3 separate regions of the Homo sapiens genome follow, and regions 2 and 3 are each linked to region 1. The links are contacts of gene promoters, found by promoter capture Hi-C in blood cells and fetal thymus (Javierre and others, 2016). All regions are on one chromosome and are shown on one strand. The core of a region is centred on a gene start or on the middle of the fragment in contact, and the rest is flanking DNA. Distances in the headings are between cores, read along the strand shown.

Region 1 (4,106 bases), core at 638-3,137:
TGGAAAAAGCAGAACGCTGGCTTCCTAATAAGTAGATTTCATAAAACTCCACCACCTACTTCTATATGCATACACTTTGGGTGCAGAGCTCTTATACTTCTTTAAAATTCCAAAGGACCGTGCACACTGGAAGCATCCATCAGCATTTTAAAATTTAAATTATGTCAGCAACAAAATTTCTAGGTAGTTTAGTTTAGGCTGTTTCACATTTGGAAGTTATTGTGATAACCTCAGTAAATTTTTTTTTTGCAATTAATAGTGTCTGGGATTGTTTATAACAGTAACTTAATCAACATAGGCTAAGTAAAACAACATTCTAGTAAGAAGAGGGCCAGTACTCCCAAAGATGACACAAATTCCTAAGCGTTGACAACAGATTGCTTAACTTACTGGGCATGCTTCTCTCCTAAAAATAAGATTGTACGTTTTATCACATCTCTGCACCTGACAGGTTACTTTCTGGTGCCTAAGGAGATCAAATATTAATAACAACTCTTGCGGGACTTGGTTCTACTTTATTTTATTTTATTTACTCTTTTAGAGAAGAAGGAACACTCAAATAATGAATGTAAAATGTCTAGTGGCAGAGAAGGGCGAACCCGGAGTTGTCAGGAATAGGCTGGACAAAAACAACCAAGACTGTCACTTCAAATGAGATGTTGCCAGTGAGTCTAGGCAACCAAGAAGACTTCTGGGGAGCCGAAAAATAATAATAGAAGGGTTCTAACTGAAGATGTTTACCTATTTGAAGTTAAGAAAAAGGAAGAGATGTGGCCTCAAAATTTCCATAATAATTATAATAGGCGTTATTTTGTACTAAACACATCACTAAAATGCGAACTGTAAACATATCTACTGTCCCTTCTACCTGCAACGGTTACATTGCATGTTCTGGGGCTTCCCTTGCTCTTCTAATCCGCAAGTGCCTGGCATGCATCTGTCTTAAAGTATGCTGTCAATTAAGTGCATGGTGATGATGGCCGTGGTGGCTTGGTGTGGGGGGCGAGGACAGTTCCATGCGGGGCAGTTGTCAGGTAACACCTGCATCCCTAGGACTGCTTGTCTAAACACCATTGGGAGCAAAGTACAGAGGTAACGGTTGGGGGATAGAAATGGACTCGGGGACACATAGCCCTGTGTTAGATACTCGACAGGCTTAATGCCACTGAGGCAGCAACTCCACGATGCAGAGATACCAGTGTCCCCATTTTACAGAAGAGCAAACAGACTCAGGTGTGCTAAGTTGCCTCACAGTTAAGTTTCTAGGACCAGAACTCAGGTTTGTCGGATCCCCAAGTTCCCTTTCACTAGGATCAACGCCACGTCTTGGCTATAGCCAGCCGAGGCTGTGAATACACAAAGGCAAGGAATTTCGTGCGGCACCCGCTCAGCATCTGCGCCTTCCACTGCGCTCGTCACGACTTAAGCCCCTGCACCTGGGAACTCCACGCTTACCCAGAAGCAGCGAGGGTCTCCAGTGCGCAGAAGGATCCTACACCCGCCGCCCTGCCGGGTCGCGCGCTCAGCCCACCCATCGCGCTGCCTTCGGACCCGGGCGCGCAGAGCAGCGCAGCTCAGCGCTGCACGCGAGTTCTCTGCGGGGCCCCGGGTTCCTCGTCCGCCCGGGCGCCTCCCCACGCCCGCCCGCCTCTCACCCCAGGCCACCGGCAGCGCAAGCAGCACCACAACCGCCAGCAGGGATCCTCCGCAGCAGAAGGGGAGACCGGGCGCCGGCGGCCCGACAGGCTCCGGGCTTCTTGGAGAAGAGGCCCCCATTCTCCCCAAGCACATCTACAAACCAGATTTGATCTCGAAGAAAACTGAAATAAGAGGAAAAGCTCAGCGAAAATAGGAGTGACCAATCATTGTGCTCCGCGCCCAGAGTGTGGGGAGGGCTGCGGGGTTCCGGGACAAAATGCTTTTGACCACAGCTTCCCCTTCATGGGCGAGGTCATGTTTACTCCCCATTTGCATTGTTTCTAACGAGTTTCGCTGGCAGAGCCCACCTTGCTGACCCAGGTGCAGCAGCAGAGCTTGACAATGCTCGGGCTTCCGATGGATCCCGCGTGTGAGGCCCTGCGCTTCCAGACAAAGGCGGTGGATGATGGCAGCTCGCCTCCAAACACCCTGCTTAACTTTTCCTCTTTGCAAGAATGTGTGTGGGAAGGTCAGCTAATGAAATGCCTGCTCTCCGTGTTGAAGGGCAATTGCAGGCGATGTGTACGGTGTACAGGGAATGTGAAGAAACAATTTCCTTACCCTGAATTGAGACGTCATGCCATTGTAAGATTTTTTAAAAGGGAGGGACAATTAGATACACATTTAAAAAATGTAAATCTGTGTATAGTATGGAAGGTAGATTAGAATAGGGCAATAATGGACTGCGAAGACCAGTCAGGGGAGCTTTTGCCGACATCCAAGTGAGGTTTGATGGCGGCCCTGACTGGGTGGATAAAGTGGACAATTAACAAAGATATTGGAGATGGAATGAACAGTTGCTCATGTATTGGATTTTGGTTACTTCCTTTCTTAAGGTTGGTGGTGAGAAGAAAGCAATCAAGAGTTAGCCCCCTTGCGGTAGTTTGCTGAGAATGATGGTTTCCAGCTTCCACAATGAGAACACATGGACACAGGAAGAGGAACATCACACACCGGGGCCTGTTGTGGGGTGGGGGGAGGGGGGAGGGATAGCATTAGGAGATATACCTAATGTAAAGGACGAGTTAATGGGTGCAGCACACCAACGTCGCACATGTATGCATATGTAACAAACCTGCACGTTGTGCACATGTACCCTAAAACTTAAAGTATAATAAAAAAAAGAAACAAAAAAAAGAAAAAAGAAAGAAATAATTAAATAATTAAGTTTAAAAAAGGTAGAAAAAATAATATTTTATCTTTTTTATTGGGGGTGGCCTGTCCTTCTGACATGTACTGCCTGCCTGTAGGTAGGCTATTTTGCCTGGGTTTTTCTCTTAAAATAATTTTGACTTTAAACCTTGATTTTGTTGTTGTTGTTGTTGTTGTTGCTAATTTTATGTTAAACTTGTTTTCCTTAACCATTAAAAGGAGACATGATTCAGAAAAGAAAAAAAAAAAAGAGTTAGCCCCAGGATTAGAAATGAATGGTGGTGCTACTTACTGAAATAAGAAGTATGGATGTAGGACTGACAGATTTAGGGCAGAGGGTTAAGTATTCAAGGATGAATGTATTCCTCCTATCTATCTGTGATCCTGTGCCCTTTAACCAATCTCTCTCCATCTCCCATTGTCTCTCCCTTCCCCAGCCTCTGGTAACCAGTATTCTACCCTCTACTTCTATGAGATGAGTTTTTTAGAGTCCACATATGACTAATAACATACAGCATTTGTCTTTCTGTGCGCATTGGTTTCCATTAGGCTTCCTCCCAAAATTCTAGTGGAAGAAATGTCTACTTTGATCATATCACTTATCACAGTTTTTAGTACATCCAGTGACATTCTTTTAAGGATTTGCTATCATCATTTCAAGTTATTCTCAACAGAGTAATGGGAGTAGCAGCCAGATTGTAGTAGGCTTAGGAAAAGAGAAGAGGAGAAGGCTCATTTCCCCAGTTTTACATCACATGCTATCAGAAGGTGCCACTCCTTACCACTTCTGCTGGTATCCATCTCCTAGTATCTACTTTCTCCCTCATTCCTTGAAAGTTTGAGCTCCTGGCTCATGGCCACCTTCTCCACTGTTACTTCTGCCACAGTTCCTGGTGATTTCAACATTCACAGCAATAGTATTTTCAAATCCCTGGCCTTCCAGTGCCTTGACCTCTTCTCTGCCTGTGGTCTTGTCCTCCACTCTCCTCTGACTCTAATGCTCATGTGCATGCTCGGAGACTTGTCACTTTCAACCTCTCAGTGATTTCAATGATCCCACTCTCTAACCACCAATCCAACTCTTTTCTTTTACCCTAGTAACGTTAAACTGAATCCAGCAATCTTTGTCTGTCTCAGTGCCTGCAGCCCATTGATCCTACCGCTATCTCTCTCAGCTTCTCACCTCCTTTGTGTCTTCACTTTCATCACTACCAGGTTAAATTCCATACTCTGTCATTATAATCACCATCTTGCAC
Region 2 (4,106 bases), core at 1,016-3,515, 250 kb after region 1:
AAGAATGAATAAGACCTAGTATTTTCTAGCACAACAAGGTGACTATAGTCAAAAATAATTTAATTGTATATTTTAAAAATAACTAAAAGAGTATAATTGGATTGTTTGTAACACAAAGGATAAATGCTTGTGGTGATGAATATCCCATTTACCCTGATGCAATTATTACTTGCTGTATGCCTGTATCAAAATATCCCATGTAACCCATAAATATATACACCTACTATGTACCCACAAAAATTAAAAATTAAAAAAAATTTAAATGAAATAATGCAGGTGGCATCCAGCTATTTGACTTTCCACATGAAGAAGCTGAATAGCAAATTAGGTCAAACTAAGGCTATTAGTACATTTTTGGTGTCTATACCTTTAAAATGGTATTATTGGGCTGGAAGGAGAGTTGCTCTGTTATAAAACCTAGAGTGACTTTATAACAATGATTTGTTTACCTGGGACACATGAGCAAGGCTGGTGCATGCATTCCTGGTCTAGGTACCTGTGCCACAGGTGAATTGAAGGATGTCAGTTATAGACACGTCACCAGAGACTCATAGGCCTTGTTCAACATCTTAGAAGTGTACCCAACTGCTTGGATTATCTCTAGACAAGCTCTGGGTAAGCAGTCAGATCCCAGGCTACCAAAATTCTCTCCACTTTAGTAGAGATAAAAAAGGATAGATTTAGCCAAGATGTCTAAGTTAGACATACCCCCAGTAGTGTTCAGAACCATTCTGTGTTTGGGTGCGGAATGTTAGGTTTCCTGCAGATGCCCATGTATTTCTTCCACTTTCCATTGAAGGTGGGACAATAGAAATACCATGTTTTCCAATTATCTCAAGAACTCATATTACTCATAAATGATAGAAATTGCATAATAAGAGTTACAATTACTTTAGATTACTCTCATACAAATTCTGCAGTTTGGAATAGGGCCAGTCCTGGGGGGGTAGAAGACAACAAGGAGGGTTGGGAGGGTTATGAAAAGCAGAGCCTGTGTGAGAGAGAAAATGTCTCTTGCAGAACCTCTGCAAATTAGCCCTCAAGGGCTGCTACCTCCTGGAGGCAGTAAGCTTGATCCTCTCTTGGGACCATATTTTTCAGGGACAGTGAGTAGACAGTGGCCATAAACTAGACCTAGCAAATGGCATGACGAAGGAAAGAGAGATATACAGCAAATTCTCTGAGCCCTCTCCTTTAGGGCACCTGGAACACTGATCATTCAGGCCAGTGATGGAATTTTAGATCCCAGGAGACAGAAGTTAAGGCAATGCATTCTGATTCCAGAGGGCCAGAGATCTCATTATTAGATAATACACAGGGATTTGGATGGCAATAAATAGCAGTATGGCCAGGGGACTCAGGAACACCTGAATTATGCCTTGACAAATATTCCTTCCCTTCCCTGTCATCACTGGGTCTTCATTCCTGCTTCCTTGACCTGGCTTCCTAACATGTGGCCAGGACATGACACCAGCCAGGGCCTGGCCTTTCAGTTCCTTGAGCCCCACATCTCCAATGACATCCTCCTGCTCACTTAGCACCTCTCCAATGGTCATCCTATACTTTGTCACTACCCAGGGCTGTTCCAGCTGAAGAATAAAATATTCAGATACCACACTCTGTGACCACACCCTTTTGTCTTTCAAGTTTGTTCCTTCTTGACAGTCCCCTGCCATCAAACACTTTTTCTTGAAAATCACCATCCACCAACCCCTCTTCTTTTCATTTCTTTTCTTCCCTTCCCAACTGAGGGGCAATGAGGCACCATTTTAGCCTTTTATCAATATTTTAAACTTCTTTGCCCCTTATGACCCTTCATTATATCCACCTAATAAAATCCCAGCCTTAAATGAATCAGGAATCTGCTGTTTCATGTTAGCAGAACTCTAGAAAAATACCCATAAAATTAAGCAGATTGGTACCACTATAAATTTGTGGTTACCAATTTCAGCAGGGCCCTCAACTCTGACTTTCTGAAAATTATAAATTTATTTAGTAAGATTGTTTTTATATTTACTACATTTTCAACCCTTGTCTATCTTTCTTGAAATGCAAAGTTTCCTACTTTTTCCCTCTCTCTGAGGAAGTGCTCTTATTTCTAGCTCAGTGGGAAAACAGAAGCCATTATAAAGGATGCCTGTTATATAGCCAGACAGCCCCCATACCCATTCTTTCCTTTTTCCCCCTCCTATAAAATCGAGATGTCCATCATCCAATCTGAGGTTATTTTCTCCCAACTCAGCCCCAAATCTCATCCCCTATGGCTTTATCAGGAAAAACGTACACTGCTTACTCTCCCATCCCAGTCTCCCCTATCCCACCTGTCCTGTCTATTGTAGTCAACTTATCCCTTAACCTGATGTCCTGCTCCAGCTACTGCCTACTCCCTGTCTTTCCTTTCTTTAGCAGCCAAATATATCATTGTTAGTTTTAAAAATTATTAAAATTATACTACTGTTTTCTATTATTCCAAAGATAAAAATTAAAATTACTATTATTACATTATATATCATCTATGTTATATGTATAAATATGCTCAGGTTACAAATAGAATGCAAGATTATAAAGTGTCAAATAAATTCTTGGCCTTCCTAACCATTCTTCAAATACATACCCCAGAGATCATCACTATGAGATTATGTAAACAGTATACTTAGATATGTAAGAATTTCTTACACAAATGGGATCATATGATACATGCTGTTCTGAAACAAGCATTTTTCATTTTATACATTTTAGGTATCTTTCCACATCAGTGCATGCAAATCTACCTCATTTTTTCATGACTACATTTCATTTTAGTGGGTTTTTATTGTTCACAGCACTATGCTCAGTGTCTGGCACAGAGTAGGTTCTCTATGAACACTTGGTGGATTAGTAAATTCCAGTGTTTGTAAGCACATCGTATTTAAACCAGTCCCCTGTTGGTAAATGTTTGGGTTGTCTTAAGTTTGTTGCTATTACAAATCAACTTGGCCATGCCCTCTCAGCTGCATCCCCTGTCCTCACATCCTTTTGACTCCCCCTGCCTGTGTTCCTATATCTATGTCTTACCTGTTCCTTTATTGTCTGTTACCATAGGCTCTTCTTCCTGTACTGATTAGCTGAGAAACTGTCCTTGATTGCTAATCACAAGAAATCCAAAAGTAATGAGCATATGTGATTATGCAAGTTTTGCAGGAAATCTCTGTAGTTGCAGTGTGTTAGTCATTAGTGTGGTTCCTCAATGATTCTGATTCTTCTCCTTCCAGGCACATGATAGTGTTGTTCTTCCCTCTTCCTTTTATAGCTCCGTTAAAGTGATTTGCTTTTGGCAGTAAAATGTAAAGTTATGAAGAGCCATGGGATTTTCATATTCCTTCCCCCGAAGCAGAGGCTGTGTGGGTCGCAGGGCAGATCCCAACCCTGCTCCCCAGCAACCCAAGATAGACATGTAGTGTTAACAGGAAATAAAGCTTTATTTATTTATTTATTTATTTATTTATTTTTATTTTTTTATTTTATTTTTATTTATTTATTTATTTATTTATTTTTTTGAGATGGAGTCTTGGTCTGTCACCCAGGCTGGAGTGCAGTGGTGTGATCTTGGCTCACTGCAAGCTCTGCCTCTGGGGTTCATGCCATTCTCCTGCCTCAGCCTCCCCAGTAGCTGGGACTACAGGCACCCACCACCACACCTGGCTAATTTTTTGTATTTTTAGTAAAGGCGGGGTTTCACCATGTTAGCCAGGATGGTCTCGACCTCCTGACCTCGTGATCTGCCCTCCTTGGCCTCCCAAAGTGCTGGGATTACAGGCCTGAGCCACCCTGCCTGGCCAATAACGCTTTATTTTTAAAGCCACTGAGATTTGGGGGTTGTTTGCCATGACAATAAACTTAGTTTTTCCCAACTAATACACTCACAGGGTAGGACCACATCACAAAAGAAGGCATCCTGTGGGGTCCCTCATTCATTCCCCACCCCCCAGGGCTCAGCATGTATATGAACCTTGTACGACCCTTCCTGTCCACATCTGCTCTGAATGACTTCTCCTGAGAAAAAATTTCTCTATCCATTGCTACCTTCTTCTGAAAAAGGATTTTGTTACCCCAACAAATCTGTTATA
Region 3 (4,106 bases), core at 475-2,974, 180 kb after region 1:
TATCTACCAGAAACTATCAGTGTGTCCTCAGCTGAGTCACTGCACCTCTCAAGGGCTTATTTCTGCATTGATTAAATAGCATTTGGCACTAAAATAGTCTCTATAGACCTTCCAATCCAAAACAAGCTTATGTAATTAAGTCAAAATACAAAGAAAATAGGTTTATGATTTTGACAGAGCAAGGGACCACGGTTCTTACTCTTATCCCAGGAACCATACAATGACTAAATCAAAGACTGTTTAATAAACTTCCCTAGTATACAGAAACCCACTAAGTGTCAATACTTGTGTTTGAGAATCTACAATCTAGTAGGGAGGTTTTCCATGATAAATGCTATACAAATATCACAACCAAAGTGGTATGGGGCTTCAGAAAGGAAAGAAGGGAGTGTGGTAATTGGAGCGGGGAAGGCTAAAGGCCCAGTGATTCAACTAAATATGACAAGTGTCAATGCAATAGGGCAAAAATAGGAAAAGAGATGAGATACGAACAAAGGTTTGGGGTCAGTCCTGTTGATTCCAGGAATAGTAAGGAGTTTAGTTTAGGGAGAGTATGGAGAACTGAATTGAGGCAATGGCAATGGAACAAGAGGGTAAGAGAGGCTGGAAAGAGATTTGAGAGAGCCTTAAAGGCAAGGCCTGTGCCTTTTACACCATTCAGAAGCATTAAAGGACGGTTGACACTTGTAAGGAGGAAGCACCTGGGTAATTTGGAATTTGCATCTAAGATGCTGGAATGGGAATGGCTGTGTAAGCAAAGATCCAATTTAGCTAATTACAACAGTCCAGGTGTTTAGAGAACAAAAATGTCTTTTAGTTTTAAAATTAATAAATCTATATTAAGGAGTTCCAGTCCTGTTGCTCTGTAAAACTCCTGACACAATTATTATAGACTTTTGAATTTCCATTCCTGCTCTGACCAAACAAGTTTCAAAGTAATAAGCCACAGAATTTGGCAACTGATTAGATAAGGAACAGTGGGGAAAAAGATGTTGAAGAGGACTCGGAAGTTTGGAGTTTGTGAGATTAGCAGCCCTATTTAAAAGAACTATCCATATTCAGCTTTACACTTGTTGAATTTCAAATGCCTTGGCAGAGTGTCTACGTGGAAATGTCCAGCATGCGATTGAAACGGAGGCAAGATTGAGGTGGAGTGGGTAGAGATGTGACTGCAGGCAAGGTTTGAACCAAGGGAGCATAGCATGTGGAAATAGAGAAGCCCAAGGTGTGAGACTTGAGGAGCCCCACGTTAGAAAGTACAAATGACAGAGAAAGGGAAAGGAGAAGGTAGTGGAAAGGAAAGAGGATTGTGCAATTTCTTGAAAGCCAAGGAATACAAAACTGTGAGCAAATATTATCACCCTCATTGCAAGTGAACCAGCTGGTGTTTAGGGAAGTTAAGAAACTAGCCCCAAACCACATGGCTTGCTGGCAGTAGAACTAGTGCTTAGGATCTTAACACCTCTGTTAGACTGGCCAGGCAACATTCCTCCAGAAAATCTCCCTTGCCATTGCATCATACCTGGTACCTTCCTCTATGCTACCAAAGTATGTAATGTGCCTATCTATGCCTCACATCTGAGGAACCAGTCTATTTCATATTTACATTCTAACTCAGCCTAAATTTATTGCCAACTTATCTTAAAATAGCCAATGGGCGGGGGGTGGGGGTTGGGGGGAGCTTTATATTGAGGCATTTTTGTCATGCAGCTGCAAATACAGGTAATTCTGCTTCACAGAATAAGGGTATTTTTTAATAAATGAAAACAAATGAGTGGACTCTCCCATTTCTTATACATGAGTTCTTCAGGAATTCACTAATCAAGGTATCAGTGTATTGCAGCAGACATAGTAGTTTTTTTTTCACTAGGTGCAGGTTCAGCAGGACCTGGGAAAAAGTGGTCTAATTCCATGTGACATGTTCACCTATGAAATGGCATCCTGCCCTGCAGCTGACTTCCCTGTGTGTGTGAGAACAGGCTCAGCAGCCAGGGGGAAATGCAATGCTTGACTTATGTGAGCAAATATTTATTTGCCAAGATCTAACTTTCTGAGACAACAGTGAATTTTTGCTACCTCCACTTTGGAGGTAGGGGCAGGAACAAGAAAATGTGTGTGTGCACACATGTGAGACTGTGTTCATGTGTGAACTTCAAACACAAATTTAGGTTTTGCAATAGTAACATTATTTATAGGAGCAATTGGGAAGGTTAGGAATCTTGTAGCCTTTAGCTGCATGACTCCTGAGCCATAATTTTTAATCTTGTGGCTAGTTTGTTCATTTTAGTATGTGTGTGCAAGAATGTGAGAATATGTTTGCATGTGAGAGTGTATGCATGTATGAGTGTGTAAGCGTGTGTGTGCATGTATGAACGTGTGTGAGCATGTGAGTGTGCATATATGAATGTGTGTGAGCATGTGAGTGTGCATATATGAATGTGTGTGAGCATGAGAGTATGTGCATGTATGAATGTGAGCATGTGAGAGTGTGTGTGCATGTATGAATGTGAGCATGTGAGTGTGTGCATGTATATGTGTGAGCATGAGTGTGTGCATGTATGAATGTGTGTGAGCATGTGAGAGTGTGCGTGCATGTATGAATGTGTGTGTGCATGTGTGTGTGTATGAAAGTCTGAGCATGTGTGTGCATGTATGAATGAGTGTGCATGTGTGTGCATGTATGAATGTGTGTGAGCATGTGAGTGTGTGTATGAAAGCCTGTGTGAGCATGTGTGTGCATGTATATGAATGTGTATGAGCATGTGAGAGTGTATGTGCGTGTATGAATGTGAGCATGTGAGAGTGTGTGTGCATGTGAGAGTGTGGTCCAGCACCCAACCGCTCTGAAACACAAATTTCCCACTTATAAAACAGGTGTAATGATATTACCTCATAGAGGTTTTGTGAGGAATAAAGGAAATAATGTATGTAAAGCATTTGGCCCATTGCTTGGCACACAGTACTCTATAAATATTAACAATAATGAATGATCATGGGTGATGACATGAATGAATGTTTCCTATAACAAGACTTGGCCACTTTTCATGAAATCTATAAATACAGCCATGTCATGACATACAGTTTTAAAATTCTGTAAAAGCAATATGAAATTCTCATGTATTAGCAATGTGGAGATCATTTAGTTGTTTTCCTTATTCTTTCCCCACTCAGTAGTATTTTTCCTTTAGCAAAGATTAGGTCATTTACCAAGATTCAGAATTGTATAAACATTGGATTCTTTACCTCCAATGTAGTCCCATCTGCAGTTTGTTTCCCTTGATTTAACAGCTTGCAAGTTAAGCAGATTTACAATTTAAGCTTACTAGAATTGCACAAGGGTAAGGAGGGAAGAAAGAAGAAATTTACATTGAAGGGATCACCTTCCATTGATACTCTCACTTTGAGACTTAACCTTGGTTAACCATCCAGCAGTGCCATGAGTAAACTATTATTACTTACAATTGCACATGTTGGGACAGGTTCAGAGGGGGAAATGATTGGATAAAACAATACAGATGGCAAAGCCAAGCAAAATTTGAACCCAGTTCTGGGGAGATTTAAAATTATGCTCCGTCCACTCTACGTGTTACCTTTTATTTGTTGGTGCATAATGAAGACTAAAGCGTTCCTCGATCTTTCTCAAAGTGTTCATCGGTGAGTATTTTCCTAGCACTGTTCTTTCAGATGTCAAATAAAATCCATTTACCTATATGATGATCATTTCTCTAGGATAAATAGTACTTTCTCATATAGCCAAATGTTCTGCTATGAAGAAGGTAATTTACTTCAGACAAACAATAATTGCAGGTTTTGTTGAAAACACTTCTGTTTTCTCAAGTCCCCCATCTGATACCACCTCCTCTACTACTTCTGTGACATCCTTTCCCCCTCATGTTTCCAGACCATGTGGCCTCATTTTGATGTCATTTAGTCCATTAGCCCAAAGGTCTATAATAATTATGTCAGGGTTTGTTTGTGTGTGTGTCAGGTTTGCATGGAAAAGAACCAATTTAGAAACTTCTTACATAACAGAGACTTACCATATGACCTTATATTTCCAAGTATGGACCCAGGAAAAATAAAAATGTCTACAAAGATTTGTACAT

The links. Contacts are between HindIII fragments. The CHiCAGO score rates a contact against its expected background, and 5 or more counts as called.
Region 2: a contact is called between a fragment that was not itself captured here and the fragment with the promoter of CR1 in region 1, in 1 of 17 cell types (M2 macrophages). The highest score is 6.5, in M2 macrophages.
Region 3: a fragment that was not itself captured here is called in contact with the fragment with the promoter of CR1 in region 1 in 1 of 17 cell types (M2 macrophages); the score reaches 5.3 in M2 macrophages.

What each region holds. Positions count from the first base shown.
Region 1 is chr1:207,493,938-207,498,043 of GRCh38, reverse strand. It overlaps CR1 (complement C3b/C4b receptor 1 (Knops blood group)), which reads right to left and starts at 1,887. Exons shown (of 47, transcript NM_000651.6): 1 at 1,656-1,887. The coding sequence starts at 1,776. The HindIII fragment of the contact is 13,119 bases long and covers 1-4,106 here.
Region 2 is chr1:207,248,099-207,252,204 of GRCh38, reverse strand. All of the region lies in intron 2 of LINC02942 (long intergenic non-protein coding RNA 2942), which reads right to left. The region is part of intron 1 of LOC107985251 (a long non-coding RNA gene); the gene reads left to right. Among named protein-coding and RNA genes, the nearest start is that of LINC02942, 10 kb to the right of the region's middle. The HindIII fragment of the contact is 2,385 bases long and covers 1,073-3,457 here.
Region 3 is chr1:207,314,177-207,318,282 of GRCh38, reverse strand. The region is part of intron 1 of LOC107985251 (a long non-coding RNA gene); the gene reads left to right. It overlaps LINC02942 (long intergenic non-protein coding RNA 2942), which reads right to left. Exons shown (of 4, transcript NR_186170.1): 4 at 4,102-4,106. Among named protein-coding and RNA genes, the nearest start is that of CD55, 5.4 kb to the left of the region's middle. RefSeq lists an enhancer at 870-1,699. The HindIII fragment of the contact is 3,192 bases long and covers 129-3,320 here.